2 separate regions of the Homo sapiens genome follow, and region 1 is linked to region 2. Evidence: promoter capture Hi-C in 16 types of primary human blood cells and fetal thymus (Javierre and others, 2016). All regions are on one chromosome and are shown on one strand. Each heading gives the region's core, a stretch centred on a gene start or on the middle of the fragment in contact. The rest is flanking DNA. Distances are from core to core; before and after follow the strand shown.

The links. Contacts are between HindIII fragments. The CHiCAGO score rates a contact against its expected background, and 5 or more counts as called.
Region 1: a fragment that was not itself captured here is called in contact with the fragment with the promoter of RABEPK in region 2 in 1 of 17 cell types (M1 macrophages); the score reaches 5.1 in M1 macrophages.

Annotation. Positions count from the first base shown.
Region 1 is chr9:125,370,650-125,376,273 of GRCh38, reverse strand. No RefSeq gene overlaps it. Among named protein-coding and RNA genes, the nearest start is that of GAPVD1, 110 kb to the right of the region's middle. RefSeq lists an enhancer at 4,696-5,196. The HindIII fragment of the contact is 3,508 bases long and covers 1,090-4,597 here.
Region 2 is chr9:125,196,667-125,202,517 of GRCh38, reverse strand. RABEPK (Rab9 effector protein with kelch motifs) reads right to left here and starts at 1,976. Exons shown (of 8, transcript NM_005833.4): 1 at 1,612-1,976. It overlaps LOC105376271 (a long non-coding RNA gene), which reads left to right and starts at 2,122. Exons shown (of 2, transcript NR_135145.1): 1 at 2,122-2,292; 2 at 2,863-2,985. RefSeq lists a silencer at 2,049-2,098. The HindIII fragment of the contact is 9,581 bases long and covers 1-5,851 here.

The DNA.
Region 1 (5,624 bases), core at 1,594-4,093, 170 kb before region 2:
CCCTCACAATGCTGTGGGGCTGGTTTTGCAGAGGGCAGACAGGATCCCTCAGTAGCTAAAAGTACAGATTTGGGCATCCTCTAGACCTGGATTTGGATCCTGGCTCTGCCATGCATTTTCTATGTGGCTTTGAATAAACCCCTTTGCATGTCTGAGCCTCGGCTTCCTCATCTGTGAAGTGCAGCCCTTACAATGCCCACTACCAGGTGAAGGCTCTGTGACGTCATGTGGGAAGCGTCAGCCCCGGGCCTGCACACGGAGTCTCGCTGTCACCCAGGCTGGAGTGTGGTGGTGCAATCTCGGCTCACTGCAACCTCCACCCCCCAGGTTCAAGCGATTCTCCTGCCTCAGCCCCCCAGGTAGCTGAGATTATAGGTGCACGCCACCACACCAAGGCTAACTTTTGTGTTTCTTTTTTTTTTTTTTTTTTTTTCTGGAGATGGAGTTTCACTGTTGTTGCCGAGGCTGGAGTGCAATGGCGAGATCTCGGCTCACTGCAACCTTCACCCCCCGGGTTCAAGTGATTCTCTTGCCTCAGCCTCCCAAGTAGCTGGGTTTACAGGCACGCGCCACCATGCCCAGCTAATTTTGTATTTTTAGTAGAGATGGGGTTTCACCATGTTGGCCAGGCTGGTCTTGAACTCCTGACCTCAGGTGATCTGCCCGCCTCAGCCTCCCGAAGTGCTGAAATTACAGGTGTGAACCACCACCCGGCCTAACTTCTGTGTTTCTAGTAGAGACAGGGTTTCACCATGTTGGCCAGGCTGATCTCAACTCCTGACCTCAAGTGATCCGCCCGCCTTGGCCTCCCGAAGTGCTGGGATTACAGGCGTGAGCCACCATGCCAGGCCATGAAGAAGGTTTTGGAACTCGAGGCATGGCCATGACTAACAACACAGGCGCCTCCCCAGAGCACCTTCCCAGAGAATGGGACAGGTGGCTCCCACAGTTCTCAGGACTGTGTCCAGTGAGATCTTACAGTGTTGGCACCTGTGGGCTGGGCTCAGGTCACTGGCTGTGGCTCAGGGCTGTTGCTGCATCTGTAAGATTGGAATAATAACCTTGTCGTTGGGCTGCTAGAGAAAAGCTTTATATCGGGAATAATGATTATTTGCCACAACGCAGGGTGGGCAGAGAGGAACCTGGTGTGTCTGCCTCGGGGGGCCTGGGTGAATTCTGGGCTCCAGCCACAGCTGTCTCATGAAGGGCTTGGTGCAAGCCCATTCGGGGTCTGAGAGCCGATTCCCTGTTCAGGAGCCCCCTGCCCTCCTGGGCATCCTCGAAGGCGCCCCAAGGCTCCTCCAGAGAGGGCTGAGGGCTGCCTTTGCTCCTCCTTTTCAGCCAATGGTTTGTACCTGTCCTTGGCCACAAGATGTCACCCAAGGAACAGCAAAGCCGGGGCCTGGGAGGAAACTGGCCGACGGCAGACTCGCGGGGGAAGGGGTCGGGGATGGTGCGGAGAAGCCGCAGAGGCAGCGTGCTGCAGTGGCTGCAAATCTCGGGATTTCTAGCAGAACGGGGCGCTGTTGCCCTCAGAGGACGCCGATTTGTAGATGCCACCTAAAGATAATAAATTCGAAAATAATAAGTAAATAGGGACAAAAATCCCACCTTCCCAGAGTAAAATTAAACCCTGCTAGCCAGATAAAGGGCTGCAAACAGACAAGACACTTTGGTGTGATCAGGGCTGCAACCCAGGCAGGCACTGAGCTGGGCTCCAGGCATCCTCATCCCGGCCCTGTGCTTGGTGGGGTGGGAGCAGACACAGGAGAGGTGTGACCTGGTGTGGCACAGCCTCTGCCCCACCTAATTCTACCCACTGGAGATCAAGGGCTTTGGGGCACTCTGTCTTCCCAGAGGACGTGAAGAACTACCTGGCCCTGGACCACGACAGGGATAGTTCCTGTCCCAGCAGGGCCTGAATTTGGAAGGAAAAGATGGTGGAATCCCCGCCCTGAAGGGCTACTTTCTGCCTCTCATCCATCCCCATCTGCAAACATTAGGGACACCTGCCATTTGGAGGCATGCCCTCCCCTAGGAGCACAGGCTCCAGGGAGACACTGCTCTGGAGAGGGAGGGATGGGGGTGAGGCCTCACTGAGGAGGGAGGCAGGAGGGGGCACCTGGGGTTTTCCTCCAGAAGGGCCATCTGAGGCAGGAGGAAGGACTGTGGGGGAGGCAGTCAGATCTGGGCATCAGCAAAGGCTTAGAGGCCGGCAAAGGGCAGCACTTTGGGAAAGGTGATAGTTCTCAGTGGCTGGAGTGGGGCTGGCTGGAGGGGAAGGAGAAGGACCAGAGGCATGTGGCTGAAAAGGCAGGACAGAACCCAGGTAGAAAAGAGAAGATTTTAGGCAGAAGAGGAATCTGCTCAGACTTGATGAATTTTTTTGTTTGTTTGTTTTTGAGGTGGAGTTTTGCTCTTGTTGCCCGGGCTGGAGTGCAATGGCGTGATCTTGGCTCACTGCAACCTACGCCTCCCGGGTTCAAGTGATTCTCCTGCCTCAGCCTCTCGAGTAGCTGGGATTATAGGCATTCACCAACACGCCCAGCTAATTTTGTATTTTTAGTAGATACGGGGTTTCTCCATGTTGGTCAGGCTGGTCTCGAATTCCTGACCTCAGGTGATCCACCCACCTCGGCTTCCCAAATTTCTGGGATTACAGGTGTGAGCTACCGTGCCTGGCCAGACTTGATGAATTCTAAGGGCACCTAGGAGAAGGGGTGAGAGGGAGGCAGGGAGACTAGGAGTCAGTCGTGATTGTGGAGGTGGAAAAACTGGCTGTGGCAGCGGGGGACAGGTTTAAGAGACATTTCCCAGCCAGGCGCGGTGGCTCACACCTGTAATCCCAGCACTTTGGGAAGCCAAGGCGGGTAGATCACTTGAGGTCAGGAGTTCGAGACCAGCCTGGCCAACATGGTGAAACACTGTCTCTACCAAAAGCACAAAAATTAGCCAGGCATGGTGGCGTGTACCTGTAGTCCCAGCTTCTCAGGAGGCTGAGGCAGGAGAATCGCTTGAACCCAAGAGGCAGAGGTTGCAGTGAGCCGAGATTGTGCCACTGCACTCCAGCCTGGGCGACAAAGTGAGACCCTGCCACACACACACGCACAACACAAAAGAGACATTTGCCAAGGGCCCCTCAGGAGGTTTGGGCAATCCAGAGCCTGGGCCAGGGAAGAAGGCTGGGCAGCGGCAGGCATGAGTGACAAAGAGGCGTGTAGGGTGGGGCACATAGGGATGAAAGTATCTGGACCCAGAAAGGCATCATGTGTCAGGAATCACTCCACTGTGGTTACTGTTTATGACCACAGTGGAAAGGGACTTGAGCTCACAACCCAGCCTGTTAGTTGATAAACTGCCTCCTGGGTACAGTGTCCAATATTTGGGTGATGGGTAGGCTAGGAACCCAACCCCATCATTATGCATGTAATACCCATGTAACAAACAAGCACAGGTACCTCCTGAATCTAGAATAAAATAAAAAAATGGGTTCTCTTGGCTGTCCATGGTGGCATCACCCCTGCCATCAAGGGGCTGCACCCCACTGAGTACTTGCCGCCCTTGGCCAAATGCCTCAGTCAGACGCAGATACCAACCAGCAGGGACTGGCAAGAACTGTGACAGCTGCAGGGCTGGGTGCTGCTGCTCTTGCCTTTGCAGGTCGCTGTGCGTCGCAGTCCTGGAAACCTCTAGAACAAGGATCACAGAAGCAGTAGAGAACCTTTGAACTCCTAGCCTGTCATCCTATTACAAAGGAGGATTTGAACAGAAAATGAGTAGGAGAAAAGCTAGTGTTATTTTAGGTGTAAGTTCACCTGCTGGCAAGGCTAAGATTAGAGCAGCTCACAGGAGAATCGTGATTTTGAATCACCCAGATAAAGGTGGATCTCCCTACTTAGCAACCAAAATAAATGAAACAGAAGATTTGCGAGAAGCGACCACCGATCACCGATGGATGCTCAAGAACCCCGCTGAGGAAAAAAGGCAGGGCGCCTTTAAAAAATCCTGCAAATCAATCTACAACATGATCTTCTTAATTTTCATACATGCATAGACCACAATCTTTTCTTCTCCCATTAAGCTATTATAACAATAAAAGATTAATAATGTCCAGGCGCGGTAGCTCACACCGGTAATCTCAGCACTTTTGGAGGCTGAGGCAGGAGGATAGCTTAAGCCCAGGAGTTGAAGACCAGCTTAGGCAATATAGCGAGACCCCACCTATAAAAAATACAAAAAAATTAGCCAGGCGTGGCGGCATGCACCTGTAGTCCCAGCTACTCAGGAGGCTGGGGTGGGAGGATCACTTGAGCCTGGGAGGTCGAGGCTGCAGTGAGCCATGATCTTACCACTGCACTCCAGCCTGGGTGATAGAGCAAGACCCTGTCTAAAAAAAAAAAAAAAAAAGATAAATAGTAACAACCACCAAAAAGGGCTCTGAGTGTCTGCCCTGTGCACAGGTGGTCCTTGTGCTCCTGGCAAGTCCAGCGCAGGCCCTCCCTGGCAACTGCCCTGCTGACCGGTGTCAGAGGAGGCACCTTTCCAGGATTCCCTGGCCTGTCTCCTCACCCACAATATACCAGGTTAAAAAGAAGCTTGGGCCAGGCACAATGGCTCATGCCTGTAATCCTAGCACTTTGGGAGGCCAAGGCGGGCAGATCACCTGAGGTCAGGAGTTCGAGACCAGCCTGGCCAACATGGTGAAACCCCCATCTCTACTAAAAATACAAAAATTAGACGGGCATGGTGGCATGTGCCTGTAATCCCAGCTACTTGGGAGTCTGAGGCAGGAGAATTGCTTGAACCTGGGAAGTGGAGGTTGCAGTGAGCCAAAATCGCGCCATAGCACTCCAGCCTGGGCAACAGAGCGAAACTCCGTCTCAAAAAACAAAAAGCAGCTTGGGGCCTGAACTTGTGTTCAGTGGCAAGACTATCAAGTCCCCTCTTGAGTCAGCTCAGTGGGCAGCCTTCCTGATCAAGGGTTCCGGACACCCCCGTGCTCCTGGCAGCCTCCACTGTGTCCCTGCACTTTAACCACCCCCTCCATTAAAGGCCAGTACAGGAGAAATAGTTCAAGATTTTATGTAGATGGTAAAACTGCAGGGGATCCGTGAGGTAATAAAGCCCAAATCAGGAAACGCCTTCAAAGGAGTTGCCACTTGCCTTAGGTCTGGTTAGAGACAGAGCTCAGATTAGATCCATCTTCCAGTTCCTGAGCCTAGCAACATAACCAAACACCGCTGGGAACCTGTGGCTTTTCAGTAATGGCGGGAGTGGCCCAGGGAGGGAAAGGACTAGTTCAGGCTCATTGGTATGGCCCACTTAGCTGTGGAGGGGCTTGTGGCAGGGGCATCCCTGAGGACGCTGCGACAATCGGATGGCCCTGAGCACTTCCTGTCATCTGTCCCCTTCCATTGCACTCTTCTCCTCACAGCATGCTGCCCCAAAGCAGCAGCAGCAGATGCAGCCTCTGCTGTCACCGCCACAGCCACACGAAAAGGAAAATAGGGTCGCCAGTGATCAAAATGTAAAGGGACCTAGGGGAGGGAACCCAGGCATGGAAGTCCACACATCAAATGTGGGAGGAGAAGTAGAAGAGGAGAAATTCTTTTACTTTCAGCAGA
Region 2 (5,851 bases), core at 727-3,226:
TAGAGTCTCACTCTGTTGCACAGGTTGGAGTGCAGTGGTGCAATCTCCACTCACTGCAACCTTCCCCTCCCAGGTTTAAATGATTCTCCTTTCTCAGCCTCCTGAGTAGCTGAGATTACAGGTGCCCACCCACGCCCAGCTCATTTTTCTAGCTTTTCTAGTAGAGACGGGGTTTTACCACACTGGCCAGGCTGGTCACTAACTCCTGACCTCAGGTGATTTGCCCGCCTCAGCCTCCCAAAGTGCTGGGATTACAGGCATGAGCCACCGTGCCTGGCTTTATTTTTTATTTTTATTTTTTCTGAGATGGAGTCTCACTCTGTCACCCAGGCTGGAGTGCAGTGGCAGGATCTCAGCTCACTGCAACCTCTGCCTCCCGGGTTCAAGCTATTCTCCTGCCTCAGCCTCCAGAGTAAGCTGGGACTACAGGCAAGTGCCACCACACCTGGCTAATTTTTTTTGTATTTTTCGTAGGGATGGGGTTTCACTATGTTCGCCAGGCTGGTCTTGAACTTGGCTCGCCTCGGCCTCCCAAAGTGCTGGGATTACAGGCGTGAGCCACTGAGCCCGGCCATTTATTTATTTTTTAATTAAAAATAGAAACGGGGCTGGGAGCAGTGGCTCACGCCTGTAATCCCAGCACTTTGGGAGGCCGAGGCAGGCGGATCATGAGGTCAGATCGATACCATCCTGGCCAACATGGTGAAACCCTGTCTTTACTAAAAATACAAAAAAAATTAGCTGGGCGTTGTGGCCCACGCCTGTAGTCCCAGCTACTCAGGAGGCTGAGGCGTGAGAATTGCTTGAACCCAAGAGGCGGAGGTTGCAGTGAGCCGAAATTGCGCCACTTGCACTCCAGCCTGGCGACAGAGCAAGACTCCTCCTCAAAAAAAGAAAAAAAAATAGAAATGGAGGTTTCGCTTTGTTGTCCAGGCTGGTCTCGAACTCCTAGCCTCAGGCAATTCTTCCACCTCAGCCTCCTAAAAAGCTGGGATTACAGGTGTGAGCCACTGCTCTCCGCTCAAAGGACAAAATATTTAAAGAAGCTGAGAAATACTGAGCTCTGGGATAAATCTTGGCCTCAACATAGCATAGAAAGTAAGGCCTTCTGCTGTTGAGCTTTTTTCCCGTGAACTCACCTCCACAATCTCTTGCATTATTGGTTTTTTTGCTGTTCTTGTAATATGGCAGGCCTTTTCATAATTTTGCAGCCTGTTCTGCTTCCCCTATTTGGAATGTCGCTTCCCTTCTGGGAAATTTGCAAACTCCTAGTTAACCTTCAAAGCCCAGTTCAAAAGTCCCTTCCCTGGTGAAACCTTCCCTGATTTGCCCTTTTCTCTTCCACCCACATCCAAGTTACTTCCTTCTTCCACCCACTGGGCTCTGAAGGTATTAGCCATCACCATTGCAGGAATCATTTGGAATGTTTATCTATTTAAGGCTTCTAGACTAGATTCTAGATTAAATTCCACTAGACTAAGTTCCTAGAGGGCTGGGCCTGTCAGATCCATTCCGAGAACCTACCAATGGACCTGGCATGGAGTAGAAGTGGGGGAGTGGCTAGTGAATGAAGAAAGAAAATAGATTGAGAGATGAATGGATAAATCTCACCTGCGGCCTAGGCCACTGACAGCTGTCCCCAAAGTCCAGAGCTCAGTTAGGCTGGCTTCACGTGGGCGGGACCTCCCGCAGCAGCCGCCGCTACCAGCCCAGCAAATCTCATCCCCACGTGGCAGTTCTAGGGGATAGGAGACGGGGTCGGGAAAGAACAGGCTGATTCGGTCAAAGTGGCCGGGACGGAGCCAGGGAAGGCCCTTCCCCGTTCTTTGCACCCGGCTTGGGCCCACTCCCCTAAAAGATTCAGACTCCCTGCCCGAGACCGTGATAGACCCGGTATCCGGGGACCCTCGCCCCTACCCTCCAGCCCCGGACTGCAATACCTGCGGCGACTTAGGCCAGTCGCGAGCCGTGACTCCACCCCGGAGGGGCGGGGCTTAGGTCCGGGCCCTCCTCCCAGGACCCGGAAGAGCGTCCGGGCCAACCGCTCCCTCTTCCCTGCTCCGCCCCGAGGGCCCGGCGCTGACTTCCTGGGCTGGCGGTGGAGGGGTCCCCCAGACCGGGAGTGGACGCCAGGCTCTGCATTTCTCGGGAACCAAGTGGGGTGGGCCTTCCCTGGGTCCCTCCCTCCCGGACGGGATAAATAAGCCGGGGCTACTTGGAAACGATTTGCGCAATGCCGGGTTCGGGCGTCCGTTTGGGGAACTCAGATGCCTGCGGCAGCTGATCTACTCTGTAAGGGGCTAACAGGGCTGGGCGCCACCACACTCCAGCTTGGGCAACAGCGCAAAAACTCCCTCTCAAAAAAATAAATAAATAAAAGGGGGGGAGGGTATAACAGTTACATTTCCAGTTACAACGATTGTTTTTTTTTTTTTTTTTTGAGACGGAGTCTCGCTCTGTCGCCCAGGCGGGACTGCGGACTGCAGTGGCGCAATCTCGGCTCACTGCAAGCTCCGCTTCCCGGGTTCACGCCATTCTCCTGCCTCAGCCTCCCGAGTAGCTGGGACTACAGGCGCCCGCCACCGCGCCCGGCTAATTTTTTTTGTATTTTTAGTAGAGACGGGGTTTCACCTTGTTAGCCAGGATGGTCTCGATCTCCTGACCTCATGATCCACCCGCCTCGGCCTCCCAAAGTGCTGGGATTACAGGCGTGAGCCACCGCGCCCGGCCACAACGATTGTTAACAGTTTCTAAAGGGGAGAGTTGAGCATGCAATCCTCCTGCGCAGTCTTCGGGCCAGCTCAAGATTTGGTGCTTTAAACAGCTGATTCATTCCATAATTGCCATTTGTAATTATGGCAGGTGCTATGCTGAGCCAGACACCACCACGCTTTGCCTCCAGGAGCAAGTCTTAACTAGAGAGAGATCAAAGAAAAAGACAACTAGGGACGACTGCCAAGAGTGCAATAAATATAAAGTTCAGCCAGGAGAGTATCTGTTCTGAAGTTACTTTCCTCCAGGCCTCAGGGTTGTCTGTTTGTAACCATGGAGCTAATAAGATTTCTATCATAGGCTGGGCGCGGTGGCTCACGCCTATAAGTCCAGCACTTTGGGAGGCCGAGGCGGGCGGATCACGAGGTCAGGAGTTCGAGACCAGCCTGGCCTACATGGTGAACGCCCCCGCCCCCCCCCCCAACTAAAAACACAAAAATTAGCTAGGCGTGGTGGTGGGCGCCTGTAATCCCTGCTACTCAGGAGGCTGAGGCAGGAAAATTGCTTGAATCTGGGAGGCGGAGGTTGCAGTGAGCCGAGATAGTGCCACTGCACTCCAGCCTGGGTGACAGAGCCAGACTCCGTCTCAAGAAAAAAAAAAAAAAAAGAGAGATGTATGTAGTAGTTGTGGTGGGGAATACATGACATAATGTAAATAAAAGTGCTCAGCACCCAGCAGCTGGCACAGAGTTCTCTGTCAAGGGTAAAGCTATTCCTGACTATAAATGAACAATGTCTCTAGACATATTCAGAATCTACATTATCTTTGTTTTAGTTCATAACCATAGGTTCTCTGTGTCTTTCCTGAAAATAGAGAGGTGGCTTGCTCTCTTATGTCTGTTTCAAAGAACTCCAGTCTCTGAAACTGTCGCTGTGTCCTAGAAAATAGAGAAAACAGCTCAGGTTAGAAACAGGAGCTCCTGGAGTATAGAGCTATGGTAGCTTAGTGGGAAGAGATCAAACATACTTGGGTTAAAATCCAAGCTCCAGGCTGGGTGTGGTGGCTCATGCCTGTAATCCCAGCACTATGGGAGGCCAAGGAGGGCAGATCACGAGGTCAGGAGTTCAAGACCAGCCTGGCCAACATAGTGAAACCCCATCTCTACTAAAAATACAAAAATTAGCCAGGCACGGTGATGCGCACCTATAGTCCCAGCTACTCGGGAGGCTGAGGCAGGAGAATTGCTTGAATCGGGAGGCAGAGGTTGTGGTGAGCCAAGATCATGCCACTGCACTCCAGCTTGGGCAACAGAGCAAGACTCTGTCTAAAAAAAAATCAGCCAGGCGTTTGCCTGTAATCCCAGCTACTCAGGAGGCTGAGGCAGAAGAATCACTTGAACCCAGGAGGTGGAGGTTGCAGTGAGCCGAGATCGTGCCACTGCACTCCAGCCGGGGCAACAGAGCAAGACTCTGTCAAAAAAAAAAAATCCAGGGTCCAGCACTAACCATCTAACTCTGACATTTGGCAAGTTACCCACTCTGAACCCTAGTTCCTCATCTATAGAATGATGATAGTATTACCTGCTGTGCAGACAGAACTGTTCAGAGGATGTGCTAATACAGGTGAAAGGCCAGGTTGGTGAAAGGAATATTTTAGCTACTTGAAACCATAACCAAAATTTATTGACAAAATGGAATTCAAGGTCTGCGGCTCTTTCAAACATATGGAGTCTTTGTGAGTTCCCACTTTAGTGGAAAAATCCCCATTGACTGTCTGCCAAAGAGAAGTTTAGGGATATTCAGTCATTCTGCTCTCCTTCAGGAAAGAAAACCAAGTCCAGGTTAGCTCTGCCATATGTCCATGTGCATCTCCACGTACATTTCTGCTCACAGCTGCAGAATGCTCTGATGTCCCCGGTGTTTTCTGGCTAGCTCTGTTTCAAGGTGCCATGCTGGAGTGGCACATCAACAAGAAAAATTGGAAGAGGTTTGTGGGCAAAATAGCAGCCAGTTTTCACTGCGGGACCTATTTATTTATTTATTTACAGACGGAGTCTCGATTTGTCGCCCAGGATGGAATGCAGTGGCGCCCTCAGTTCACTGCAACCTCCGCCTCCTGGGTTCAAGCAATTGTCCTGCCTCAGCCTCCCAAGTAGCTGGGATTATAGGCGTGGCCACCACGTATGGTTAATTTTTGTACTTTTAGTAGAGACGGCATTTCACCATGTTGGCCAGGCTGGTCTTGAACTCCTAGCCTCAGATGATCCACCTGCCTTGGCCACCCAAAGTGCTGGCATTACAGGCATGAGCCACCGTGCCTGCTGAACCTATGCTTTTAGACTAGAAATCACATTTGAGAATGTGGAATGCCTGAGATCTATTTTCTTTTTTTTTTTTTGAGACAGTCTTGCTCTGTCGCCCAAGCTGGGGGAGTGCAGTGGCATGATCTCGGCTCACTGCAACATCCGCCTCCCGGGTTCAAGCAATTCTCTGCATCATCCTCCCAAGTAGCTGGGATTACAGGTACCCGCCACCACACCCAGCTAATTTTTTTTTTGCATTTTTAGTAGAGACGGGGTTTCACCATCTTGGCCAGGCTGGTCTTGAACTCCTGACCTCGTGATCCACCCACCTCGGTCTCCCAAAGTTCTGGGATTACAGGCGTGAGCCACTGCGCCAGGCTGCCTGAGATGTATTTTCTATTTCTATTTTTATTTATTTACTTATTTTGAGATGGAATCTTGTTCTGTCGCCCAGCCTGGAGTGCAGTGTCATGATCTCAGGTTACTGCAACCTCCGCCTCCCAGGTTCAAGCAATTCTCTTGCCTCAGCCTCCTGAGTACCTGGGACTACAGGTGCGCACCACCATGCCTGGCTAATTTTTGTATTTTTCGTAGAGACAGGGTTTCACCATGTTGGCCAGGTTGGTCTTGAATTCCTGACCTCAAATGATTCACCCACCTCTGCCTCCAAAAGTGCTGGGATTACAGGTGTGAGCCACTGTGCCTGGCAAGAGATGTATTTTTAAAAATGGAAATCAAGGCCCAGAGAAGTTAAAATAACTACCCCACATAAAATGGCAGAACCAGGAACCCAGGAACCCAGATCTCTTATTTCTTGCAAGGAAGACTAAGAATGC